Linked DNA regions of Homo sapiens: all the other regions are linked to region 2. Evidence: promoter capture Hi-C in 16 types of primary human blood cells and fetal thymus (Javierre and others, 2016). All regions are on one chromosome and are shown on one strand. The core of a region is centred on a gene start or on the middle of the fragment in contact, and the rest is flanking DNA. Distances in the headings are between cores, read along the strand shown.

Region 1 (2,700 bases), core at 1-2,500, 1.3 Mb before region 2:
CAGGGGCGGTGGTTCACGCCTGCAATCCCAGCACTTTGGGAGGCAGAAGCGGGCGGACAGCTTGTGCCCAGGAGTTCTAGACCAACCTAGTCAACATAGTGAGACCCTGTCTCTATTAAAGAAAGAAAGAAAAAGTACAATACAAAATTGAGGCCGGGCGTAGTGGCTTATGCCTGTAATCCCAGCACTTTGGGAGGCTGAGGCGGGTGGATCGCTTGAGATCAGGAGTTCGAGACCAGCCTGGTCAACATGGTGAAACCCCTGTCTCTACTAAAAATACAAAAATCACCTAGGTGTGGTGGCGCATGCCTGTAGTCCCAGCTACTCGGTAGGCTGAGGCGGAAGAACCGCTTGAACCTGGGAGGCGGAGGTTGCAGTGAGCCGAGATTGCACCACTGCACTCCAGCCGGGGCGACAGAGCAAGACTTTGTCTTAAAAAAAAAAAAAATTATATGCAGATAACAGCCCTGCATAGATGAGGATGCATAGGACCTGGGCTGAGAAGAAAACGGGACTATCACAATGCGTTAAACCCAGGAGGTTTTTGGATAAGCTATAAAATACCACTCGATGCTACATTATTTTTGCAATAAATACACATTGATATTAAAAGGGAGGAGTTTCCTCAATGGCCCCTCGGAACCTTTCAAGTTATTAAATAGAAACGAGAACACTTTACTTCTGGTCCAACATAGCTTTGAGCTTTCAAAGAAGAGAGGATCATATTATTTCACCATTTCTTTTCAGGCTCTTGATTCACAGAAAGGATGAGGAATTCGTTGAAATGTTATGGGGTTCAATGAATTGTGTATATTTTGTTGACATGCTTACTAGGGGAGCTGTTTACAAGTGAAATAAAATACAGTTCCTACCCTTTGGGATTTCCACTAATGGGGTTGGGGAGTAGTATACCTTATATAAGGGTTCTTAGTCGCAGACAATAGACACCACTCCAGCTAGAGGGGTTTTGTTTACATGAGGTGAAGGAGCTTACAGATGACGGGTCTAAGTCCTACACAGCCAGGAGCCATGCAGCCACGAGAAACACTTAATTTTACTACTCCATTGGGACCACTGCCCCATCACTTAGTGCAGCCCCCAGCATAGCTGCCCCCAAAAGAACAAAACATATCCACCACTGTGCCCTCCACCTGTGGCCACCCACTCACTTTCACTGTGTCTGGCTTGGTGGAACCTAGCCCACGCTGCAAAGGAGTCTGGGAAATGCAGTTTTTAGTGTTCCAGGGGCTGAGTGAGTCAGTTTGGAGAATCTGCTAGGAACATCATGAACCGTACACGTATTGAGACCCTACTCTGTGCAGTGGGCACAAAAAAGTTCTAGGGTGTGATCCTTGCCTTCCAGGATCAAGACTGGGCAGAGAACAATGGAAGACCTTCACGACTGCTGACCAAATGTGTGCCAAGTGGCAATGAGTGACACAGACACAGTCAAGAGGATGACCTCTGCAGGCCTAGGAGGGCAGCTGTGGCTTCTGGGCAGGGGCAGCCTGAAATGGACCTTGGAGAATGGCTGGGCTTTAGCTTCATGCCAAGGAGGAGGAAAAGGGGTGCTTCTGCCAGTGGTGTGAGCCTACCCATAGTTGTTTCTTTTCAGTCAGCTCTGTGGGTACTCTTGGGCAAGTCCCTTTTCATTTCTACGACTACAGTAGACAGAATAGTGCCCCCTTGAGATGTCCACCTCCCAATCCCCACAACCTCTAAATATATTACCTGACATGGCAAAAGGGACTTAGATCTTGCAGAGCCTATGCTCCTGTAGGGAGATTATCCTGGATGGTCCAGGTGGGCCCAGTATAATGACATGAGTCCTCATAAGGGAAAGAGGGAAGCAGGAGAGAGTCAGAGTCAGAGAAGGAGGTGTGACAGCAGAAGCAGAGGTCAGAGAGAGAGGTGTGAAGATACCGTGCTACTGGCCTTGAATACAAAGGGGCCATGAGCCAAGAAATGCAGGTGGCCTCTGGAAGCTAAAAAAGGCAAAGAATTGGATTCTCCCCTAGAGCCTCCAGAAGGAATGCAGCCCTGCTGGTACTTCAAGTTTAGGACTTCTTACCTCCAGAACTATAATAATAAATCTGTTGTTTTAAGCCACTAAGTATATGGTAATTTCTTGCAGTAGTGACAAGAAACAAATACAGGGATCCAGGTCCCTCACCTGAAAAATGTGGCAAGTCTCTAAGTGTGGGCCACTGATAGGCTAAAACTTGATCTGAAAATTCCAGGCTTTTCTTGGGATGCAATGAGTGTAGGGCATTGTCTATGTTAGGGTTGCATTTGGCTACATGTAACAGAAACCCAGCCATAGTTGCCCAACCAAATCAGATTTTACTTTTCCTCATATATCAAGAAGCCAAGAGGGAGGAAATCCTGGATGGGACAACAGCTCCCAGGACCATCAGGCTGCCTCCTGCTTTCTGCTCCACCACTCTCTCAGCATGTGGCCTGCTCCTCACGCTAGCAAGATTCCTGCTCCACCCGAGGCATCATGACTGCATTTCAGGCAGGAAGGAGGGGAAAGAAAAGAAAAAAGGGCATGTGACAGCTGAGTCTGACCCTTTATACCCAGAAAGCAAAAGCTTTCCCAGAACCCTGATCCAATGGACTCTCATTTGCATCTTTTGGGCCAGAGCTAGCCAGGTGGCACATGAACACCATAGTGTGCCAGGAAGCATACACCACTGA
Region 2 (2,700 bases), core at 91-2,590:
TGCAGCCTTGGTCCCACCTTACCAATCCCCTCCTCTTATCCCTCTCACTGGCCCCCCAAACCCAGCACCCCGTCCTTTAAAAGCGACAAGAGAGGGACCCAGCTACTTGGAGTATGGGGTCTCTGTGCTCCCACCTTTATGAATGGGCCAGGGGCAACAGGGAGAGGAGGTCTGGAGGGGGAAACATTAGCATGGTTTTAAAAGGCGAATTTGCTTGGTGGTAATTGAGCTGGAAGAGTTCCTCGAGCTTTATAGGGTGGCATCATTTCACAGGCCGTTTGTTTGGAAATCACGCTAAGGACTAACGCAGGACTCCCCTTCGTCAAATGTTGTAAAGAGGAACCGTCTCTGAAATGCACCATTGTCAATCATCTTGGAGTGCTAATCATTCCAAGGAGGAGAGAGAGAGAAAGGCAGAGATACGGAGCGAGTGAGGAAGAAGACTCAGAAAGAGATTACGGTGGAGACAGACTGCCCAGACCCGACTTGCAGATCTCCACCTCGTGTCCGGAAAGAAAGTACCAGATGTGCAGTGATTGAGGACAGCCGGGTGTAAGGCCGGCCGCGTGTCCCTCTCGCTGTGGTCCACTCTCTCAACAACTCAACCTTCCCCAGGAAGCCCAAGCCGGCACGGGTCTGTGTTCGCCTGCTCCCAGGGGCCCACCGGGCGGAGGAGGCACCACAGTGCGCGCCCCTCTCCCCGCGGTCCCGAACCCCCGGCTGCCGCAGCTCTGGCCAGAGGGGGCCCGGCGCGGGAGTCTTGGCGGGGCGCTCAGCCTCCCTCCCCTCGCGCTCGCTCGCTGCCACACTGGCGACGTGCGATCCTTACCCAGGCAAGGAAAAGGGATGGGGGGATGGTGCTTGGGGCCCTGCTCCTTAGGGCCGTGCTGGTCTGGGCAGAAGCAGGCGGGCGCCTTCCAGCCGTCGTCCGGCTCCTCCTCCTCCGAGGACACGGACAGGCTGCGCTTCCTGGCTGGCCAGCCGACGGGCTCCCGCGGTGCCTCCGAGGGGCCCCCGCCCAGGATGGACTGGATGGTGAAGCTGGAGACGCCACCGGCCGCCGGACACCCCTTGCCCGCATCTTCTTTGCTGCCCATCCTGGGTTCATAAGAAATCGAAGGAAACCAAGAACTCCCTTTAGAGACGATCTGGGTGATCTGGGTGGAAGGTGGTGCAGCAGGCAGGCAGTGGGGAGGGGCGGGGAGGAAATCTAGGGGGAGGGGGCGCCGAGGCTGGTGAGGCGTCCCTTCCGCGCCAGGGACATGCAGGCACCGGATGGCTGCGCAGGGGTTCCTGCCCGCCTGGCTCTGGGTGCGCCCGCCCAGCCCCGGTGCAAATGCCCCTTCCTCGCCCGCCAACTCGCCGGGTCTCCGGCGGCGCGGAGGCGGCGCGGCCTCATTTGCATAGAGGTTACCCGAACGCGGCCAATCGCAGCGCCGCCGAGCGGCCCCGGAAAATTTCAAAACGCTCCGGCCAGGCACACAGCACCGGTGCGCCCCCAGAGCGCGCCGAGGGCCTGGCGGGCATCAGCGGCGTCTAACCAGGGGCAGCCAGGGCTGAAAGCAGCTGCAGATTCTAGCCCGGGTTCCTGGCGGCTGCGGCAACTCCGACTCCTTGGACCCCTTGGACCCTTCTCTCCAGAGGCAGGGGCGGTGCGGGACTCGGAGCTGGAGTGGCTCGACGCCTCCGCAGGCGACGGGTCTCCGCGCCTCCCAGGGGCTTGTACAGGCTGCTCCACCATCCTCCCCCAGCCCTCCACCCCTTCTAGCCCCAGTGGGCGGGCAAAGCCGGCACTCCTGGGACCGTGGCGCCCTGCGTGGGGGTGAGGTGGGTTAGGAGCAGGCGTCTCCAGGCGGACGCTCATCCTCTCCAGCATGGCCAGGAGCCTTGGGAGCAGACATTCCCCTTCCCCGTCTGCAGACCTCATCCCTGTCACAGGTTCTACGGACCTACAGAATCTTTAGGGGGAGGGAGGAAGCCCTAAGACCTCTAGTCAAGAGATCTGGGTTCAAATTCCGGCACAACTATTTACACACTGCATGAACTTGCACAACTCATGCCGATTAAAGCCTCTCTGCCCTCATAGTTGAAAATAACTTCTCGGATTGCCTCAGGTAGGGATTAAAAGCCTCGAAGCACTAGCAGCGCATAGTAGGTACTCCATAAACCTGGCCGGGTAGCCCATGGCCCACCCGTGTTTTAAGCGAATCTGTGTTTTTGTTTTGTAAATTTTGAAGGTTTCCGAACTGCTGCAGAAATAGACGCCTTACTCCCAGGAAGAAGATAAGGAACTGGTGACAGGACTCGGTTTTAGAATTGAGCAGACTCGACTCAATTCTCGGCTGGGTGATCTTGGGGGAAGACATTTGGAAATTCTGAGGCTCGGTTTCTTTATTCCTAAAATTGGAGGAAGCAGTGCCTCCCTCGCAGAGGCTGTTGTGAGGTCAAACTACCCAGCACCGAGCCTGGCACACCGTGGTGCTCAGTAAATAGTGATTCCCTCTGTGTTCTCATAGCCCCCTTCTGTGCCCTGGCTCTCGCCCCTTTAATTCCTAGATCAGCTGTTACCCGAGCTAGAATTAGCCCAGCCAAGCAAAGCGGTTTGGGGCCACAGTCGTCTGCACAAGCTTCCTGGAAACTGAAGTGAGGCAAGGCCCGAAGTGCTCAGGCAACCCCGTCCCCTCAAGCTGTGACCTCTAG
Region 3 (2,700 bases), core at 1-2,500, 1.2 Mb after region 2:
GAGTGTGGAGTGCAATGGCTCGATCTCGAGTCACTGCAACCTCCGCCTCCTGGGTTCAAGCGATTCTCCTGCCTCAGCCTCCCAAGTAGCTGGGATTACAGGCATGTGCCACCATTCCCGGCTAATTTTGTGTTTTTAGTAGAGATGGGGTTTCACCATGTTGGCCAGGCTGGTCTCAAACTCCTGACCTCAGATGATCTGCCCATCTTGGCCTCCAAAAGTGCTGGGATTACAGGCGTGAGCCACTGTGCCCAGCTGAGTTACTTTCAGTTCTTACACTTAGAAGGAATATTGTTACATACTTTTCTCCAATTTTTGATGCTCAAGACTGTACTGTAAATATATACCTGTATATAAATCAGGAGAACTAATAAGCACAAAACATTTTGCTAAGTTTTCTGAAGAGACCAGCATGTTAAATCATTGGGGATATTTATTAAAGTTTGAAGGTCTGATGCAGTCTGATTGCAGTGAGGACTTAAATTTATGCTGTCATAGAGACTATTGACTAATCCTCAAATAAATATAATTAACTTCGATGTGTTTTTTTGAATGAAAATATATATAGTGTCATTCTTTATTTGTGCTGTGTGTATGCCCAACTAACAGCTGTGAAGTATGTACAAACTTTTCATTTATCCAATATGAGTGTTTTGGAATTTTAACCTAAACACTCCTATTTTTTTTTTTTTTTTTGAGATGGAGTCTCACTCTGTCGCCAGGGCTGGAGTGCAGTGGCGTGATCTTGGCTCACTGCAACCTCCGCCTCCCGAGTTCATGTGATTCTCCTGCTGCAGCCTCTTGAGTAGCTGGGATTACAGGCGCCCGCCACTATGCCCAGCTAAATTTTTGTATTTTTAGTAGAGATGGGGTTTCACCATGTTGGCCAGGCTGGTCTTGAACTCCTGACCTTGTGATTTGCCCGCCTTGGCCTCCCAGAGTGCTGGGATTACAGGCATGAGCCACCGTGCCCGGACACACACTCCTATTTTTAAACCTCACACTTTGAATTTAAAAAAGAAAAAAGGTTACCCTGCCGTAATTAACACACTACTTATTTTTTCAGGCATGTGGGCACATTCCATGACAGTACAGGATTATCAGGATCTCATAGACCGAGGATGGCGAAGGTAAAGCTTCCAGATACAAAGAGACTTCCTACTGTTACTCAGGTTCTTGAAAAATACAGCATGCCTTTGAAATGCTTTCCTGTTGGAAAGAGGTTTAAGAAAAATTTTTATTATATTCTTTTATGTAGTGATTTTTTGTCTCCTTTTTAAAAAACTTTGTTAGGAAAATGTCAAATATCTATAAAAGCAGAGAGTACATTAGAATGAACCTCAAGTACCTATCACTAAGCTTCAGCAGTTATTAACGTTCTGCCAATCATGTTTGATTCTCCTGCTCCACCTTTTAATATTTAACAGCAAATTACATCAGTAGGTTATTATGACATTTATCCTATCAATAGATAGGCAATAAGTATGTATCTCTAAGAGAGAGGTCTTTTTTTCTTTTTAACTTATCCACAATGCTGTATCACACCTTACAAAATTAATAAAAATTCTTTGATGTTACCTGTTACCTACTTTTTATTAGATTTTCCAGATTGTCTCAAAAATGTCTTCTTTAACAGTTTATTTGGATAAGGATTTCCTTAAAGTCCACACATGGCCTGTTTTGAGTAGTTATTTTTATGTGGATGATTTTTAAGTAACTCTTAGGTAAAGTTCCTTGTGTAAATATAAGTAATATTAAATACTGTACGCTAATACTTGCCAAAGACGTGGGATTGGGAGCACCAGCTGAAATATCACAACTTTCCTTAAACTTAATGAGATTCAAAAGGTAGACATAGGTCAGATTTTAAAGGACTTCACATGCCATGATAAGGAACTTTTTTTTTTAGAGACATGGTCTCGCTCTGTTGCCCAGGCTAGAGTCGCTCTCTTGCCCAGGCTAGAGTACAGTGCCATCATCATAGCTCACTGTAACCCCAAATTCCCACACTCAAGTGATCCTCTTGCCTCAGCCTCTGCAGTGGCTAGGACTACAGGTGTGCATCACAACACCTGGCTAATTTTTCAGTTTTTTGTAAGATCTTGGCTATGTTGCCCGTGCTGGTCTCGAACATCTGGTTGCAAGTGTTCTTCCAGCTTAGCTTTTCAAAGTGTTGGGATTATAGGTATGAACCACCATGCCTGGCCAGAACTTTTTAGAAGGCAGTCATGGAAGGATTTTATGGTAAGAGAGAAATGTGAAGGAATTTGTTTTAGAAAAGATTGTTCAGATGGCTGAGAGGTATTTGAGGGGGGGTCATAGAGGCAGGAAGATGAGTTCAAAGGTTATTGCGCTATCCAGATGTGCGATGATGAGGACTGTCACCTTAGTGGCAATGGTGATAGAGAAGAGGGGACAATTTAGGATAGGGTTTAAAATGAAGGAAAGCTTGCTAATAGGATATAGAGGTGAATTCCAGGGAGGAGTTTAAAATGACTCCCAGGTCTCTGACTTGAGAACAGAATGAACAGTTCTGTTAGTACCATAGACCTGGAATGCATGGAAAGAAGCGGGTTAGTTTTGGGGTACTCCGTGCTGGTGCATGTGGAATACCCAAGTGTGGTTGTCACAGGCATCACATACATGAGTCCCACAGCATCGTGGGCATTTCTCTCATTGCCCTTGTGGTATTGGGGATTG
Region 4 (2,700 bases), core at 132-2,631, 1.7 Mb before region 2:
CTGCTTGTTCTTACAGTAATCTTGCCATATACATAAACTGTGATATTAGTAGGCATTCAAGAAATAAAGGACCCATTTTTAATAGTCCATGGACACTAGGGGTATCACAAACCCTTACATATGGAACTATATTACATTATTAAATAGCTGGTTGTAGTACCCTAGGCCATAGTCTTCAAAGCTGCTTCTGGAAAAACCCATGATGTATATATTCCTATTCCTATCATTAAGTTCTACCATCAACACTGAAGAGATGAAAGGTACAATAATTTAATTGCATTCAATTTACTAATGGAATCACCTCCCTGTGAAATCAGTTTTTATTAATGGAAGCTAAGATTGCTGACATCAAACCAAATGCAGTTCCTCCTTCTGCAGTGTACCATTTTGCTTTGTAATGACAACCAAAAACCCCACACATAGGTTTAATGAGTTTGAATCATTCACTATTAACATCACTTAAAATAATCCCCCAATTTGGTGGCCAAATTATATACCTCCTTTAAGAGAGAAGTGATCTAGTTTCACAAAGCATTTCCAATCAGAGGCCAATGACGTTAAAAGACAATTTGTAAAATAAAGACACTGAAACAGACAGGATCTGCTCCTCCTGTGGGCTCACAGCCTATGCATTTCCCATCACTCAGTAGTGGGCCTGTCACTTCCCTATTTCACTGTGACTAGTGAAAGAACTAGTCACAAAGAACTAAACACGCAACTTCAAGGAAATACAAAATAGACCCTGCACCGAACGCTCCTGTATACATTCTCCATTTTGCATCAGGGCGAAGAAAACACACAACCGTGTCTAACAAGTATCAGTAGTGACAGCCACGGTTTCACTCGCAGCACCCCCACGACAACCTGCGAGACCGGCGGGCGGGGCTGAGTACCTCGCCTACTGGACTAAACGCCCGGCCTTTAGATTCCTTCCCGACCCCGTGCGCCCCTCTTAAGTCTAGAAGCCTGACTTTCAGGGAGGGGCAGGCGCTCGGTTTCCACCGAGCGACTCCTGACACTGCAGGAGGCCAGGTGGGACAGTTTTGCTGCACGGGAGACGGCTGTGCCGGGACGGCCGAGCGGCTGAGAGCGCGAAGCCAGGGGGCCTGTCCCAGGGGCGAAGGAGCCCCCAGAGGCAAGAGCTCACCGGGGGCGGGAGCCGCCCGGGTCACCAGCTCCTCCGGCCGGCCCTGGTGCCCAGGGGGCGAGCCGCATGAGGTCCCGGCTTGGCCGCGAGCGCCGGCCTGAGACAGAGGCTGAAAGCCCCCAGCGGGCGCGGCAGGGGGCCCGGCACCTACGTGGTCCGCGTTGCTGTTGGCGCTGTGGAAACACACAGCACTGAAGGTGTAGCCCGAAATGGACGCCGCCATGATGGAAATCTCCAGCTACCCCATCATGCCCCGCGGAGGGCACACGGCCTTCCGGACGGCCCGACCCCTTGGCATCATGGGAAGTGGAGTCTGCGGCGGGCAGCGGCCGAGGGCCCTGAGCGCTCACAGTCTTGAAGGCTGAGGAACGCCGGTTTTTGCGATCGGAAGGACCCCGGCACCGTATCCTCCGCAGGGGTGTCGCTCCCGACACGCCTCAGACAGCGGTTGATAGTTCCGCAAACAGTTCTTTCCCTTTGCAAGTGAAACCTTAGTATTAAAAGACAACATTCTAGCCGGGCGCAGTGGCTCACGCCTGTAATCCCAGCACTTTGGGAGGCCGAGGCGGGCGGATCACCTGAGGTCAGGAGTTCGAGACCAGCCTGACCAACATGGAGAAACCCTGTCTATATTGAAAATACAAAAACTAGCCGGGCGTGGTGGCACATGCCTGTAATCTCAGCTACTCGGGAGGCTGAGGGAGGGGAATGGCTTGAACCCGGGAGGCGGAGGTTGCGGTGAGTCGAGATCGTGCCATTGCACTCCAGCCTGGGCAGCAAGAGCGAAGCTTCGTCTCAAAAAAAAAAAAAAAAAAAAAAAAAAAAGGCCAACATTTAGGCTGAGCGTGGTGGCTCGCGCCTGTAATCCCAGCACTTTGGGAGGCCGAGGTGGGCGGATCACGAGGTCAGGAGTTTGAGACCATCCTGGCTTACACGGTGAAACCCCGTCTCTACTAAAAATACAAAAAATTAGCCGGACGTGGTGGCGGGCTCCTGTAGTCCCAGCTACTCAGGAGGCTGAGGCAGGAGAATGGCGTGAACCTGGAAGGCGGAGCTTGCAGTGAGCCGAGATCGCGCCACTGCACTCCAGCCTGGGTGACAGACCAAGACTCCGTCTCAAAAACAAAACAAAACAAAAAGCCAACATTTGAGGCCGGGCGCGGTGGCTCATGCCTGTAATCCCAGCACTTTGGGAGGGGGGGGCGTGTGTGGGGAGTGTTAACCTGAGGTCAGGAGTGTTATGCGCGTTTGTGTGAAGAGACCACCAAACAGGCTTTGTGTGAGCAACAAGGCTGTTTATTTCAACTGGGTGCAGGCGGGCTGAGTCCGAAAAGAGAGTCAGCAAGGGAGATAGGGGTGGGGCCGATTTATAGGATTTGGGTAGGTAGTGGAAAATTACAGTCAAAGGGGGTTGTTCTCTGGTGGGAAGGGGCGGGGGTTACAAGGTGCTCAGTCGGGGAGCTTCTAAGCCAGGAGAAGGAATTTCACAAGGTAATGTCATCAGTTAAGGCAGGAACCGGTCATTTTCACTTCTTTTGTGATTCTTCAGTTAC

Evidence for each region. The method cuts DNA at HindIII sites, captures the fragments that hold promoters and counts their contacts. A CHiCAGO score of 5 or more calls a contact.
Region 1: a fragment that was not itself captured here is called in contact with the fragment with the promoter of HMX2 in region 2 in 5 of 17 cell types (neutrophils, activated CD4 T cells, fetal thymus and 2 more); the score reaches 16.2 in neutrophils.
Region 3: a contact is called between a fragment that was not itself captured here and the fragment with the promoter of HMX2 in region 2, in 1 of 17 cell types (activated CD4 T cells). The highest score is 6.3, in activated CD4 T cells.
Region 4: a contact is called between the fragment with the promoter of ABRAXAS2 here and the fragment with the promoter of HMX2 in region 2, in 1 of 17 cell types (neutrophils). The highest score is 5.6, in neutrophils.

Annotation. Positions count from the first base shown.
Region 1 is chr10:124,458,872-124,461,571 of GRCh38, reverse strand. No RefSeq gene overlaps it. Among named protein-coding and RNA genes, the nearest start is that of LHPP, 1.6 kb to the left of the region's middle. The HindIII fragment of the contact is 2,693 bases long and covers 1-2,596 here.
Region 2 is chr10:123,146,776-123,149,475 of GRCh38, reverse strand. It overlaps HMX2 (H6 family homeobox 2), which reads right to left and starts at 1,340. Exons shown (of 2, transcript NM_005519.2): 1 at 830-1,340. The coding sequence starts at 1,097. RefSeq lists silencers at 631-760, 1,151-1,470. The HindIII fragment of the contact is 9,748 bases long and covers 1-2,629 here.
Region 3 is chr10:121,922,696-121,925,395 of GRCh38, reverse strand. It overlaps ATE1 (arginyltransferase 1), which reads left to right. Exons shown (of 12, transcript NM_001001976.3): 2 at 1,067-1,130. Among named protein-coding and RNA genes, the nearest start is that of ATE1, 4.0 kb to the left of the region's middle. The HindIII fragment of the contact is 223 bases long and covers 1,139-1,361 here.
Region 4 is chr10:124,800,500-124,803,199 of GRCh38, reverse strand. It overlaps ABRAXAS2 (abraxas 2, BRISC complex subunit), which reads right to left and starts at 1,381. Exons shown (of 9, transcript NM_032182.4): 1 at 1,299-1,381. The coding sequence starts at 1,370. RefSeq lists a silencer at 1,106-1,185 and enhancers at 674-1,227, 1,286-1,555, 1,228-1,782. The HindIII fragment of the contact is 5,454 bases long and covers 1-1,937 here.